Regions from separate parts of the Homo sapiens genome. Here region 2 is linked to region 1. Evidence: promoter capture Hi-C in human tissues and cell types (Jung and others, 2019). All regions are on one chromosome and are shown on one strand. The core of a region is centred on a gene start or on the middle of the fragment in contact, and the rest is flanking DNA. Distances in the headings are between cores, read along the strand shown.

The links. Contacts are between HindIII fragments. The study calls those that stand out against the background at their distance.
Region 2: the fragment with the promoter of STAC3 here is called in contact with the fragment with the promoter of MYO1A in region 1 in 2 of the 25 tissues and cell types used here (adrenal gland and aorta).

The regions. Positions count from the first base shown.
Region 1 is chr12:57,047,706-57,054,113 of GRCh38, forward strand. MYO1A (myosin IA) reads right to left here and starts at 2,424. Exons shown (of 28, transcript NM_005379.4): 1 at 2,182-2,424; 2 at 505-638; 3 at 284-399; 4 at 1-16. The coding sequence starts at 618. RefSeq lists an enhancer at 1-345. The HindIII fragment of the contact is 15,407 bases long and covers 1-6,408 here.
Region 2 is chr12:57,249,381-57,255,998 of GRCh38, forward strand. It overlaps STAC3 (SH3 and cysteine rich domain 3), which reads right to left and starts at 1,807. Exons shown (of 12, transcript NM_145064.3): 1 at 1,613-1,807; 2 at 191-257. The coding sequence starts at 256. R3HDM2 (R3H domain containing 2) reads right to left here. Exons shown (of 24, transcript NM_001394031.1): 23 at 6,610-6,618; 24 at 4,384-5,733. The coding sequence ends at 5,393. The HindIII fragment of the contact is 9,667 bases long and covers 1-5,943 here.

The sequences.
Region 1 (6,408 bases), core at 1,174-3,673:
ATTTGCCAATGCGTAGCTTGTGGGGAGGAAGTGGGCAATGACTATTGTGAAACCAGTTCAAGACACCATCTTTCACTCAATCTCCAGCACGCAGGTTCATCCACTCTCTCTACTTGGAGCAGACTGGGCAAGATGTGACAGGCCTTGGAAGGGGCCTCCAGAAGGCCAGGGAAGGAAGGGGCAGCTGGAGAAGCCCCTTCAGGGGAAGGGACAAAGGAAATTAGGATGACTCAGTGTCAAGAAGCTGGGGCCCTGTCAGCCTTCCCTTGGTCCCCCTACTCACATATGGGGCTTCAGCTCATAGAAAGTATAGTCTTGATATTTGGCAATGAACTCTGGCCCATAGATGGGAAGCTGTTGATAGGGATTCACTGAGATCACCACATTCCCAATGTAGGTCTGGAGCCAGGAAGAAGGTGAAGGGAATGAGCTTGAGGGTGAGGTGGGAGCCTGTGACCTCTCCAGCCACATATCCACAGCCAGAGGCACCCATATGACACTCACATAAATCTCCTTGTTTTCATAGCGAAGCTGAAGATTCTTGAGCAGTGACTCCTCCACCAAGGGTTCCAGGAGGACAAGATCCTCCACCCCCACAGAACCTTCCAGGAGAGGCATGTCCAGAGGGGCCACTGATCCTGGGAATAAGAGGCACAGTTTGCTGATGTCCACTCAGCTTTAGGGGCCAGTAACTGTTTGAGGGGAGGATGGCAGAAGGACCAAAAGAGCCTTCCTCTCTTCCTACCCTGGCCCTAAAGAGAGCCCCCAACCTAGGAGAGGCCTCTGGACCAGCCCAAGCTAATAGGGAGGCTGAAACTCTCAGCAGGAGGTGGGGGAGATCCTCTGCTGCCTGGGTTACAGTTGGTGGGGGTGGGGCAGGGGTGGAACAGGAACACCTTCCTCTGACCACCAGGGGAAGGCAGGCACCCAGTGGGCTACAACTGGGGGAGCAGAGTTGTGACTGAAGGAGAGAGGGCTGAGGAGGAAAGTGTAAGCAAAGACTTGTGCTGCCGCCAGGTACAGAAAGCCCTCTCTCTCCTACAATGGGCCCTGGCCAGGGTCCAGACTCCCCATCTACCCCCAGTGCTTCTTCTCAACACCTTACCTCTCACAGCCCCTATTAAAGACACCCAACCTACCCATAACCATTTCAGAAGTTCTTCCAAAGGTCTCTCCTTCCCTGTCATTGCTACAGTGAGCTTCATTTTTAAAATGGGAACTTGACAAGGCAGAATTATAGAGGATAGAGGCAGGATTCCTCCATAAGAGATTGGAATTTCCCAAAGAAAATGAAAGTGGGGTTTGCTTCCCCAACAAACAGGCAGTTGTCAGGACCTCTGGATGTGCTACATGTCTGTCTCTATTTTTCCATCTCTAGCTTTTACACCCACTCCTGTAAACTTCTGGCATGGACTTTGCCCCAGAGGGACACACCTAGCTTCTTGCGGGAGTGGGCAAGGAGGAGCACAGTTGGAACTACAGGGAGGGTGGTGGGGCTTGGCCCCCATGCAGTAGGCACATGGCAGGTGTTCCCTAAGGAGGAAACCTGGCCCTCCTCAGTCTTTCCTGTGAGACTGAGTAGGCAGAGTGGCCAGGCACAGGACAGGATTATTAGTACAATGGTCAAGGCCACTCCTGAACAGGAATGAAAGAGACACATCCTCCTATGCTATTGCATCTCTGAACCCGGGTGGAGGAGCGGAGGAAGGAGGAACGGAAGTGGGGCAAGAAGGGGCACAGGCTTCCTTCTCCCTTCACTTGGCTTTCCCCAAGCTCTAGGAAAAGAGAGCACTTGTCACTTACCAGAAGGACACAACTGAGGAAGCAATAAGAATATCAATAATAGCAGTCTCTAGGAATCATGCAGCGTTTACCACGAACTGGGCAGGGCTCTAAGCACTGTACATACACTAATTCATTTAGTGCTTACAATATCCCCATGAAGTAGATACTATTTTTGTATTTTCTAGATTTTACAAAAAGCTAAGTCTTTTAACTAACTTGGCAGGGAAGGGTGAGAAGCAGAAGGTGGGTTGGGAGCAGTCATCTTCTTTGGATTTGGATTTGAAGGGAGTGGGAATGTGACTGGTTGAGGGTGGGGAAGGGAAAAAGGCAAGAGGCCCCAGATGGGGCGCCCCAAGGTGTTAAAGAGAAGCAGTGACAGGTCAAGGCAGGACTCACCCAACACTGGAACTAGGGTATAACTTCACTGTCCTTGGAGAATGGTGGATGAAATCTCAATTTGACAGGAATGGGGCATAAGAGTCCTGGCCCCAGGATGGAGAGGTGGCTTAATGGGAGCTGTCCATGGTGCAAGGAAGCTGGGAAAAAGGCTGCCCTCCTCTTGCCAGTGTCCACTCTTCTGATTTTCCCTTTTGCTGCCTCTTCCAGCCCAGGCTCCCTGTGCCAGTCAAACCAGGAGAGGCCGGAGATGGCTGATCAGCACAAAGTCCAGACTGTTCCTGCTGAGGGTGTGGCTCACTTAACCCTTCACAGGCCTGAAGCCCCAGAGGGAGACACTCAAGCTCCCTCTAGGTAGGAAAGGGTATCTGGCTGGCGTTAGCTGAGAGGCTTAACTAAAGGAGGGTTCTTGCTCCATTGTCTCCCAAATTTGGAAATGAAAGCTGGAAGAATGGAATTTATAGCCAAGGAAAATATTTCCCAAAGAGAAGTCAGGAATTTTGTCAAGGACAGGTAGGGCCAAGTGCGGTTGCTCATGCCTATACTCCCAGCACTTTGGGAGGCCAAGGCGGGAGGATCACTTGAGCCCAGGAGTTCGAGACCAGCCTAGGCAACATGGCGAGACACGTCTTTACAAAGAGTGTCTTCCTAGCAAAAAAACAGTACCTCCCTCATACCTACTCTTCCTATCTTATCGGGAGTCAGGGGATGTTAATGAGATTACTTGGAGAGCTAAGCAGACAAAATCCCCAAATTCTTCTCCACTTCCCTTCCCCCATGAATCAGACCCTATCATAGAGACCCAAAGATTAAAGTGATTAGTAATAATACCTCACATGTGTATAGATGTCCCAGTTTCATTGAACTCCCCCTTGCATTGCCTCACTGAATAGCACCACCCCGAGGAAGGCAATACAGATACTCCATTAAAATGGAAAACTAGGAACAAACACCAGACTCAGAGAGGTTACACAATGTGCCCACAGTTCCATGCTAGTGCATGGCAGAACCAGGAACAGAATGCAGCTCCCTAAGTTTGCCAAAAGTTGCAGCCCAAGTTCTGAAGTTTCTAATTTTAATTCGTCAGCACTAGGATACTGAGTAAGACCCTGAGCTAATGTAATAGCTCCCTCTGATAGATAAGAAGTACCCCTTCATCCAGCCAGGAAAATTCCTAAAAACAGCAAGCCCCCTCTGCCTACCATCCTCTCTCCCAGGCATGCAGAAAGAACAAATTAGGTAATTATAGACACTTAACTGAAGAGAGACTTGATTCTCCAACTCTCAGCTATGGCTGCTTGGTGCAAGGTCCAAACTCTATGGCTCTCACAGAAGCACTCTGCGTAAGCCTGGCACATCAGCAGTTCTATTATCAACCTGCCTTTACATAATTTATTGATCTACTACATATATTTGAAGGTGGAGGGGGGCAAGGAAAAGAGAGAAAGCTGAGTGGAAGTGACATCAAAACATAATGCTATGTGTAGGTGGAGCAGTATCCATGTCCTAGAGGCAGAAGTGACAAATATCACCTATTTACCAGTGGAGGAAACAGATCTAGAGTGAGAAAACCACTTTTCCAGGGTCACACCACTGCAAACCTGGCAGAGCTGGCACCAAAACCCAAGTCTCATGTTCTCTAGGCCAGGAATCTGCAGCCATCTGGGGTTTACCTGCATGTCCACCCATTCAGTCAACTGAGTGCCTACTATGTGCTTACTCACGAGAAAAGTGACTCTAAAATGAGATGGCACTCTCAGGTGTAAGAACAATGACATGAACATCACAGCTAGGGCAACCAACTGTACTGATCCGCCTGTGGGACACAGTGGGGTTCTCTGGACATGGGAATTTGAGTGTTAAAACTAGGAAAGTCCCAGGCAAACTGGAGCCAGTGGGTCAGCCTAAATTAACAAGATATGAAATACACATCCAAGTCAGCTGGGATTTTCTAATCTCCTGCTTTCTAGGCAAAACTGAAGCAACCAGAGCGTATTAGTCTTCCTCTACTTTGACTCCTAAATCACCTTCCTTTTTCCCCCATTAACATTTCTAGACCATGGAAGGGGCAAGAGGGAACTTTTTGGGGTTACAGAAATGGTCTATATCCTGATTGTGGTAGTGGTTATACAACTGTCTCCATTTGTCAAAACTCAGCAAATTTGTACACTTAAAACTGGCAAATTATATTGTTATGTAAATCGTACTTCAATAAAACTGGCAAAAAAAAAAAAAAAATTCTAGGCTGGGTGCAGTGGCTCACGCCTGTAATCCTAACACTTTGAGAGGCTGAGCCGGGCCGATCACTTCAGGCCAAGAGCTCGAAACCAGCCTGGCCAACATGGTGAAACCCCGTCTCTACTAAAAATACAAAAAAGATTAGCCCGGGCATGGTGGCGGGTGCCTGTAATCCCAGCTACTCAGGAGACTAAGGCAGGAGAATCGCTTGAACCCGGGTGGTGGAGGTTGCAGTGAGCCGAGATCACGCCATTGTACTCCAGCCTGGACAACAAGAGCAAAACTCCGTCTCAAAAAAAAAAAAAAAAAATTCCAAATCATTTGGTGCTGATTTCTGACAAATTGGGAAGGCAGCAATCTGATTAAGCCAATTCACTCATTAATCTTCCCACAGGTACTAACTTTTAAAAAGATGTTACACAATAAAAAGGCAGCTATTTTCAGATATGGTGAGGAAGACATTTGGTGGTAGAGGGTCTTCTCGGCTCTCATAAACTATCTGGTACTAATAACATTTATCATACTTAGACTGGACTAAGATGTGCCAGGCAACAAGCTAAGTGCTTTACATCATTGCTATTCAAAATGAGGTCCACAGACCAGCACCATCTGATCAACTGGGAGCTTACCAGAAATCCAGAATCTTTGGAAGGCTGAATTGGGAGGTCTGCTTGAACCCAAGAGTTCCAGGCTGCACTGAGCTATGAGTGTGCCACTGCACTCCACTCCAGCCTGGGCAACAGAGCAAGATCCTGTCTCTTAAAAAAAAAAATAAATGCAGATTCTTGGGCACCACTGAAGATTTAGTGAATCAGAATCTGCATTTTAACAAGATCCCCAGGTGATTCCCATGCACTTTAAAGTTGGAGAACTGCTTTACCCAACTTACCATGTTTTTTTTTAAATTATACTTTAAATTCTAGGGTACATGTGCACAACATGCAGGTTACATATGTATACATGTGCCATGTTGGTGTGGTGCACCCAGTAACTCATCATTTAACATTAGGTATATCTCCAAATGCTATCCCTCCCCCCTCCCCACATCCCACAACAGGCCCCAATGTGTGATGTTCCCCTTCCTGTGTCCATGTGTTCTCATTGTTCAATTCCCACCTATCAGTGAGAACATGCAGTGTTTGGTTTTTTGTCCTTGCGATCGTTCGCTGAGAATGATGGTTTCCAGCTTCATCCATGTCCCTACAAAGGACATAAACTCATCATTTTTTATGGCTGCATAGTATTCCATGGTGTATATGTGTCACATTTTCTTAATCCAGTCTATCATTGTTGGACATTTGGGTTGATTCCAAGTCTTTGCTATTGTGTATAGTGCCGCAATAAACATACATGTGCATGTGTCTTTATAGCAGCATGATTTATAATCCTTTGGGTATATACCCAGTAATGGGATTGCTGGGTCAAATGGTATTTCTAGTTCTAGATCCCTGAGGAATCGCCACACTGACTTCCACAATGGTTGAACTAGTTTACAGTCCCATCAACGGTGTAAAAGTGTTCCTATTTCTCCACATCCTCTCCAGCACCTGCTGTTTCCTGACTTGTTAATGATCGCCATTCTAACTGGTGTGAGATGGTATCTCATTGTGGTTTTGATTTGTATTTCTCTGGTGGCCAGGAGGGATTAAAGACTTAAATGTTAGACCTAAAACCATAAAAACCCTAGAATAAAACCTAGGCAATACCATTCAGGACATAGGCATGGGCAAGGACTTCATGTCTAAAACACCAAAAGCAATGGCAACAAAAGCCAAAATTGACAAATGGGATCGAATAAAACTAAAGAGCTTCTGCACAGCAAAAGAAACTACCATCCGAGTGAACAGGCAACCTACAGAATGGGAGAAAATTCTTGCAATCTACTCATCTGACAAAGGGCTAATATCCAGAATCTACAATGAACTCCAACAAATTAACAAGAAAAAAACAAACAACCCCATCAAAGAGTGGGCGAAAGATATGAACAGA
Region 2 (6,618 bases), core at 557-3,056, 200 kb after region 1:
GCAAACTAGACAGTTTTCTAGTTTCAGGCAAGGAATGTACCCCAGGATTAGGGGGGTATTGGTATTGGGGACTGCAGGTGCTGGCCAGCAAAAAATGAGTCACACACAAATGAGATCAATTTAAGCACTCTTCTTCAGCTGTAATGGCTTCCCAGCCCCCCACACCCAGTGGTCAGAGGCCCAGACTCACCCCACTTTGCCGAGTCTCTGCTGGGAAGGAGGGCTTAGGGGACTCCAGCACCTCCTTTTCTGTCATCCTGCAAGAGGTTGGACCCCACTATGAAATCTAATCCCTTTCATTCTTCTCTCCCTTTCTGTCCCTTGCAGTAGGGTGGTCCTCAAAGGGGAGGCTTTCGGAGAAATGTGATGAGAGATTTTGCTGTTGTTACTGTTGAGATGGGGTCTCACTCTGTCACCCAGGCTGGAGTGCAGTGGCGTGATCATGGCTCACTGCAGCCTCGACCTCCCAGCCTGAAGCGATCCCCCTACCTCAGCTTCCTGAGTAGCTGGAACACAAGGTGCACACTACCTGGCTACTTTTTTATTTTTTGTAGAGACATGGTCTTGCTTTGTTGCCTAGGCTGGTCCCGAACTAGCTCAAGCAATCTTCCTGTTTCAACCTCCCAAATTGTTGAGACAGGCGTGAGCCACTGCACTGGGCCAAATACAGATCCTTTGGCAGGTTTTATTAACAGATTTCATGGAGGTCTAGAAAAAAGCTTAACATGGCCGGGTGTGGTGGTGCATGCCTGTAATCCCAGCACTTTGGGAGGCTGAGGCAGGCGGATCACTAGAGATCAGGAGTTCAAGACTAGCCTGGCCAACATGGTGAAACCCCATCTCTACTAAATATATAAAAATTAGCCGGGTGTGGTGGCGGACGCCTGTAATCCCATCCACTCAGGAAGCTGAGGAAGGATAATCGCTTGAACCCGGGAGGCGGAGGTTGCAGTGAGCCGGGATTGTGCCACTGCCCTCCAGCCTGGGTGACAGAGCAAGACTTCGTCTCAAAAAAAAAAAAAAAAAAAAAAAAAAAGCCCAACAGACTAAAGAGCTTCCCAATTAGTTCCTCAAACTGATACTCATCCTTCCATCCTGAGGGGCGACCCCATAGTTTACAGCCCTTACACAGTGTTCAAAGCTGCGTGGTTTACGTCATTTTCCTATAGGTACTTTGTTTCTCCTGGAAATCTGTGGGCAACAGAGATGTGATGCATACCTTCCCAGATCTCCTCTCTTCAAGAGGTTTAATGTGTGTCCTCGTGTGCACACAAGGAAGGATGGACTGGAGACATTTGTCCTCCCCTACTTTTTTCTTGAGCCCTGGGGGCCCTGTGCCTAGTTCTGTCCCAGCCTGCCTCAGGGCTCAGCTATTTTAAGTTTTCAGGGTAATATGAGCCTTTCCTTCCCTTACTACTTCATTCCCTTCACCCCACCCCCACCCCCACCCCCCGCTTCAATCCAAACTCATCCTAGAGTAGAATAATAATTTTACGCCTAAAACCCAAAAGACTCACAGACAAGGAGAGAAATGAAGAAGCTGAGTAGATTATAGATCAGGGCAGCTGGGGTGAGCAGTCGTGGAAATCAAGAGGATGAAGAGGTAACTTACGTTCGGGATTCCCTAAGTCAGTCCACAGGCTGTAGAGGGAGCTGGGAGCCTCGAGGCCTTGATGGTGGTGCTGGGGAAAAACTGGTCCTCTTCCTTGGGGGCTAAGCCCCCCCAGTACCCCCTGTGTTCACACCAGCTACCCAGTCGCTATTTGTAGACCTCCTAGCCTCCTGCCTTGGTGTCAGGGCTGAAATGACAGGGCTGGAGGAAAGTGGACAGCTGAGAAACACAGCTGACACAGAGAAATTGGACACTGAGAGGTCTGGGGCAGGGCCGGACCCTAACTCCTCCCAACCCCCTAGAGCTGCTGTTCCTTGATTCTTCATCTAAGGCGAACAGGTGAATAATGGCTGAATTCAGGAAGGGACAGTTTCTGTTCATGCTCATTTAACATTTAAGGGGAGTTTATTTTTATTTTTCATTTATTTTTTGAGACAGGGTAAAAAAAGACTAATTTGAACTCATAGAGCTCTCCTATCAGCCATACTAGATGGCTTTTTTTTTTTTTTTTTTGAGACAGAGTCTTGCTCTTGTTGCCCAGGCTGGAGTGCAATGAAGCGATCCGGGCTCACTGCAACCTCCCAGGTTCAAGCGATTCTCCTGCCTCAGCCTCCTAAGTAGCTGGGATTACAGGCGCCCACCACCACGCCAAGGTAATTTTTGTATTTTTAGTACAGATGGGGTTTCACCATGTTGGCCAGGCTGGTCTCGAACCCCTGACCTCAGGTGATCCGCCTGCCTTGGCCTCCCAAAGTGCTAGGATTACAGGTGTGAGCCACCGTGCATGGCTAGATTGCTTTTTATCTGTAGGTGGTTGGAGGAGTACTTTGCTATCCTGTAAGAAAGTGAAGAATATGTAGTATTGCTTCATTCCCTCCAGCAGCTCCCAGAGACATCTCCCCACCCTCCTTCTTGTAAAATTTTGTCCTCAGACTGAAGGGAATTACCAGGGCTATTAAAAAGGGCCAGTTAACACTGGACAGAAGCATATAGCTGCCACATAAGGAATTTTTTAAATCATTTCTAAGTAATGTCCCCTTCCTCATGAGAACTGCAAACTCTTAAAGGTAGGATGGCCAACCCTCACACTTCCTAAACCCTTTTGATTCCCTGATTCCATCTCCCACCTTTGATGCCTCAGTATATAACTGATGGATCAAAGAGACAGATGCCATTCTCATCTCACAGGGGTGCACCCTTCTACTCTTTGGGCTGTGACATGGATGAAAGAGGAGATACTCCCATCTCAGGGGAGAGCAATTTAGAGGTGGCAATGCAGTGCTGCTCTATTCCTTGTATCTGTAAGAAATAAAGGACTGTGTTGGAGACTGGGTCAGGCAAGCTCCTGTAGGATCGTCGTTAGGGATACAGCTACTTGGACCCAAGAGATTTCCAGGGCAACGTGCTTTGTCATTCTCACCCACTACTTTTTTCTATTTAAGGGGGGAGTTTGAAAAGGGGGTGCAGGATGGTTCTGACTCTGCAGGTTCTTTAATGGCCCTGCTCTGACAGGCTGCAGAACAACAGGGCTTGCTTTGAGATGCTCTAAAGGAAAAGCTCCATCTTGCAGGCAAGATGACTTCTGCTCTTCGTCTTTTTTCAGCCACATAGGACAGGGACTGCTGAGCATGTTTGGATAATACAGCATCTTGGCACTGCGAGTTCAGTTGCTGTAGCTTTCATTGTAATAAAAATCTGCTTCTGTCCCTGACAGGTAAAACCCAATCCTCCAGCTTTAGGATTAAAGAAAGGCAGCCAGGCACGGTGGCTCACGCCTGTAATCACAGCACTTTGGAAGGCCGAGGCGGGTGGATCACAAGGTCAGGAGTTCGAGACCAGCCTGGCCAACATGGTGAAACCCCATGTCAACTAAAAATACAAAAATTAGCTGGGCACGATGGGGCACAGCTACTCAGGAGGCTGAGGCAGGAGAACTGCTTGAACTCGGGAGGTGGAGGTTGCAGTGAGCCGAGATATCGCGCCACTGCACTCCAGCCTGGGCAACAGGGCGAGACTCCATCTCAAAAAAAAAAAAAAAAGAAAGGCCCAAGTTCTCCATCCCTAAAGGGTTTTCAGAAGACGAGCTGGGCTGGGAGTGGTGGCTCATGCCTGTAATCCCAGCACTTTAGGAGGCCAAGGCGGGAGATCACTTGAGCCCAGGAGTTCAAGACCAGCCTGGGCAACATGGTAAAACCCTGTCTCTGCCAAAAATAGCAAAAAAAAAAAAAAAAAAGATTAGCCAGGCATGCTAGATCGCGCCTGTAATCCCAGCTACTCGGGAGACTGAGGCACAAGAATCGCTTGAACACGGGAGGCGGCTGCAGTCAGCTGAGATCTGCCACTGCACTCCAGCCTGGGTGACAGAGCAAGACCCTATCTCAAAACTCAACTACAAGGGCCCTAAATGAGTACACAGTACCACAGAATTAATAGTCTGGAAGGAAACCTAGAGGTCACCTACTAAGTCCAAGTCTCTTATTTTACTGATCTGGACACAGATCCAGAGTTGAGAAGTGATATGCTCGATGAACCACAGTGGCAGAACCGGGAGAGCCCAAAGCCATGGTCCCATTAGAGATCTAGCCATCTATCAGAACCGTGTACAGGGAAGAGGATGAGACAGAGGGAATGGTGTTAAAATAGTGTGCGTATGCTAGAGAAAGCCATCCCAACCCACGACAAACACCTCCAACAGCTGTAGGGCTATACCTACCCAGGGCCTCCAACCCTTTACCCATACCAGGGCGGCAACAGAGAAACAGTGACTGATGTCCAGTGACAGATTTTTTTTTTTATATTTAAAAACAAAACCAACCTCCCCCCAAATAACCCCCAAACAAACAAAAAAACAGATTAAATAAAATTTACAGTGAATATACCCAGCAAACATCTGTATGTGCAATTAAATACTGTGTCTGTTACTGCGGCACGAACCTCAAACAAACAATATACAAGTGTTCTGGGGGGGCCAGGGGAATCCCAAGTTTTAACTCTGTGGGGTCTAGGAAGACAAGATGGGGAAGTGAGAGAATGGGGCAATCAATTTTGTTTATCTTAATTCTGTCCATATAAATATATTCATAAAGACCAAAAAAGGAAAGGAAGCTTGGGATGTTAAGGTAATAGGAGGACAGTGTGGGACTTTCCCAATTCTACCTGACCAAAAAATGAGAAATTAATTTTATGATAGGAGAAGAGATTTAAAAAAATGATAGAAGAGGATGGAAGCCAGGCACAGTGGCTCACGCCTGTAATCCCAGCACTCTGGAAGGCCAAGGCAGGTGGATCACCTGAGGTCAGGAGTTTGAGGCCAGCCTGGCCAACATGGTGAAACTCCGTCTCTACTAAAAATACAAAAATTAGCCGGGCATGGTGGCGCGTGTCTGTAGTGCCAGCTACTTGGGAGGCTGAGGCAGGAGAATCACCTGAACCCAGGAGCTGGAGGTTGCAGTTAGCCAAGATCGTGCTACTGCACTCCAGCTGGGGTGACAAGAGCGAAACTCCGTCTCAAAAAAAAAAAAAAAAAAAAAAAGAAGAGGATGGGAAGAAGAGTGATGCAAGGGGGGTCAACCAGGGAAAAAGAGAGGACCCATGGCAGGGGAGCAAGAAGGAGTCCAATGCCAGTGTAGGTATCTGTGTTTCCATCTTCATCACTGTCTTAGGTTCCAGTTTAACATCAGTTTCCTTACTTCCTGCCTCTGTCCATGGTCTGTCAGGATCCTTCAACCCCCTCCACCCTGCCCTTGCTCCTTCTGTGACAGTCCCTTTCCCCTCCTCCATTTATTGGGAGCTGGCTCGCTCCAGGATCCTCAGGTCATAGTTCTTTTTGGCCATTCGAAGTTTGAAGCGACTCACGGAGTTGTTGAGACGAAGGGAGGCATTTTGGGCAGCCAGGGGGCTGGGGAACACAGCCACAATGGTGTACAAGGCAGCGAGGTCCGAGTGGCGGCCATTCTCAGCAGTCCCACTGTTGTCCCCCCCACCCCCTCCAGGCAGCCCCTGAGCATCCTTGAGCCACTGGATCTTGGCGCCAGACATGGCGAGCTGCGTGAAGAGTTTGTCCGCCTCAGTACGGGTGATGCCCTCAGGGAGATCTGTCACCTCCAGCACCCGCCCCAGGACTGGAAGGGGAGGAGAGAGGACATGGTTGTGAGAGGAATAGGACAGGAAGGACTTGACAGCAGCCCAGCAGAGAAGTGTCCAGCTGACTAAGTCTGTATACAATGTCTTCAAAAGCCTGGCCTTTCTCTCTTAGCCCTTTCTTCCCCTCCCCACCATCCCAGCTCTGATCAGGGCAACTAGGAGAAAAACAAATGAACCTTTCTATTCTCCTAGCCCAGAGATACAGGAAAGAAGGGACAGGGAATCAGAATCCTGGGTTTCTGAGCTAAGAACCTATACCTCAGTTCTCTCACAAGGTGCTACTGCTATGAAGAAAATGTGGCTTTTGCTAATGTTCTTTAACAATAATGTATCAATCTGAAATATGTTCCATAGTTCCCTTCCCACTCAGAGGCTGGCTCAAATAGATTCTTCCTTCTTATCATCTCAGGAAGTCAAGTTTCCCTTCCTTTCCTTGTTTAGGAAATTGCTCCAAATCCCAAGACAGATCTTGTTCACCTAGTGGGAGGCTTGTAGGACGAGAGTTTCTCCCCCATATTCTCTACCAATCTTCTCCTAAACTGGGTCTAGGACTACCAAAGGTAGATGTCGTAGATTAGGGACAGGACACTAATTAGAAAACTCTTTGTTAATAAGAGGCAACTCCCATAATTGTGTTATTCCCACTTTTTACCATGATCTTCCTCAGAATCTGAGATGGCTTGGTAGGGAGGACTGAGATACTTCACTTCTCCAGTTTCTGCTTGCTTTTGAGCACAAAGGGTCCCACTTCCACTCCCCATCCTAAGCTGGCTTTTCCCACCCATGCTGGACTGGTAATTAAGCGCTGGAAGGGTGGGCACCTTCTCTTGGGGATTCAGCATCCCGTGACTCACCAACATCTG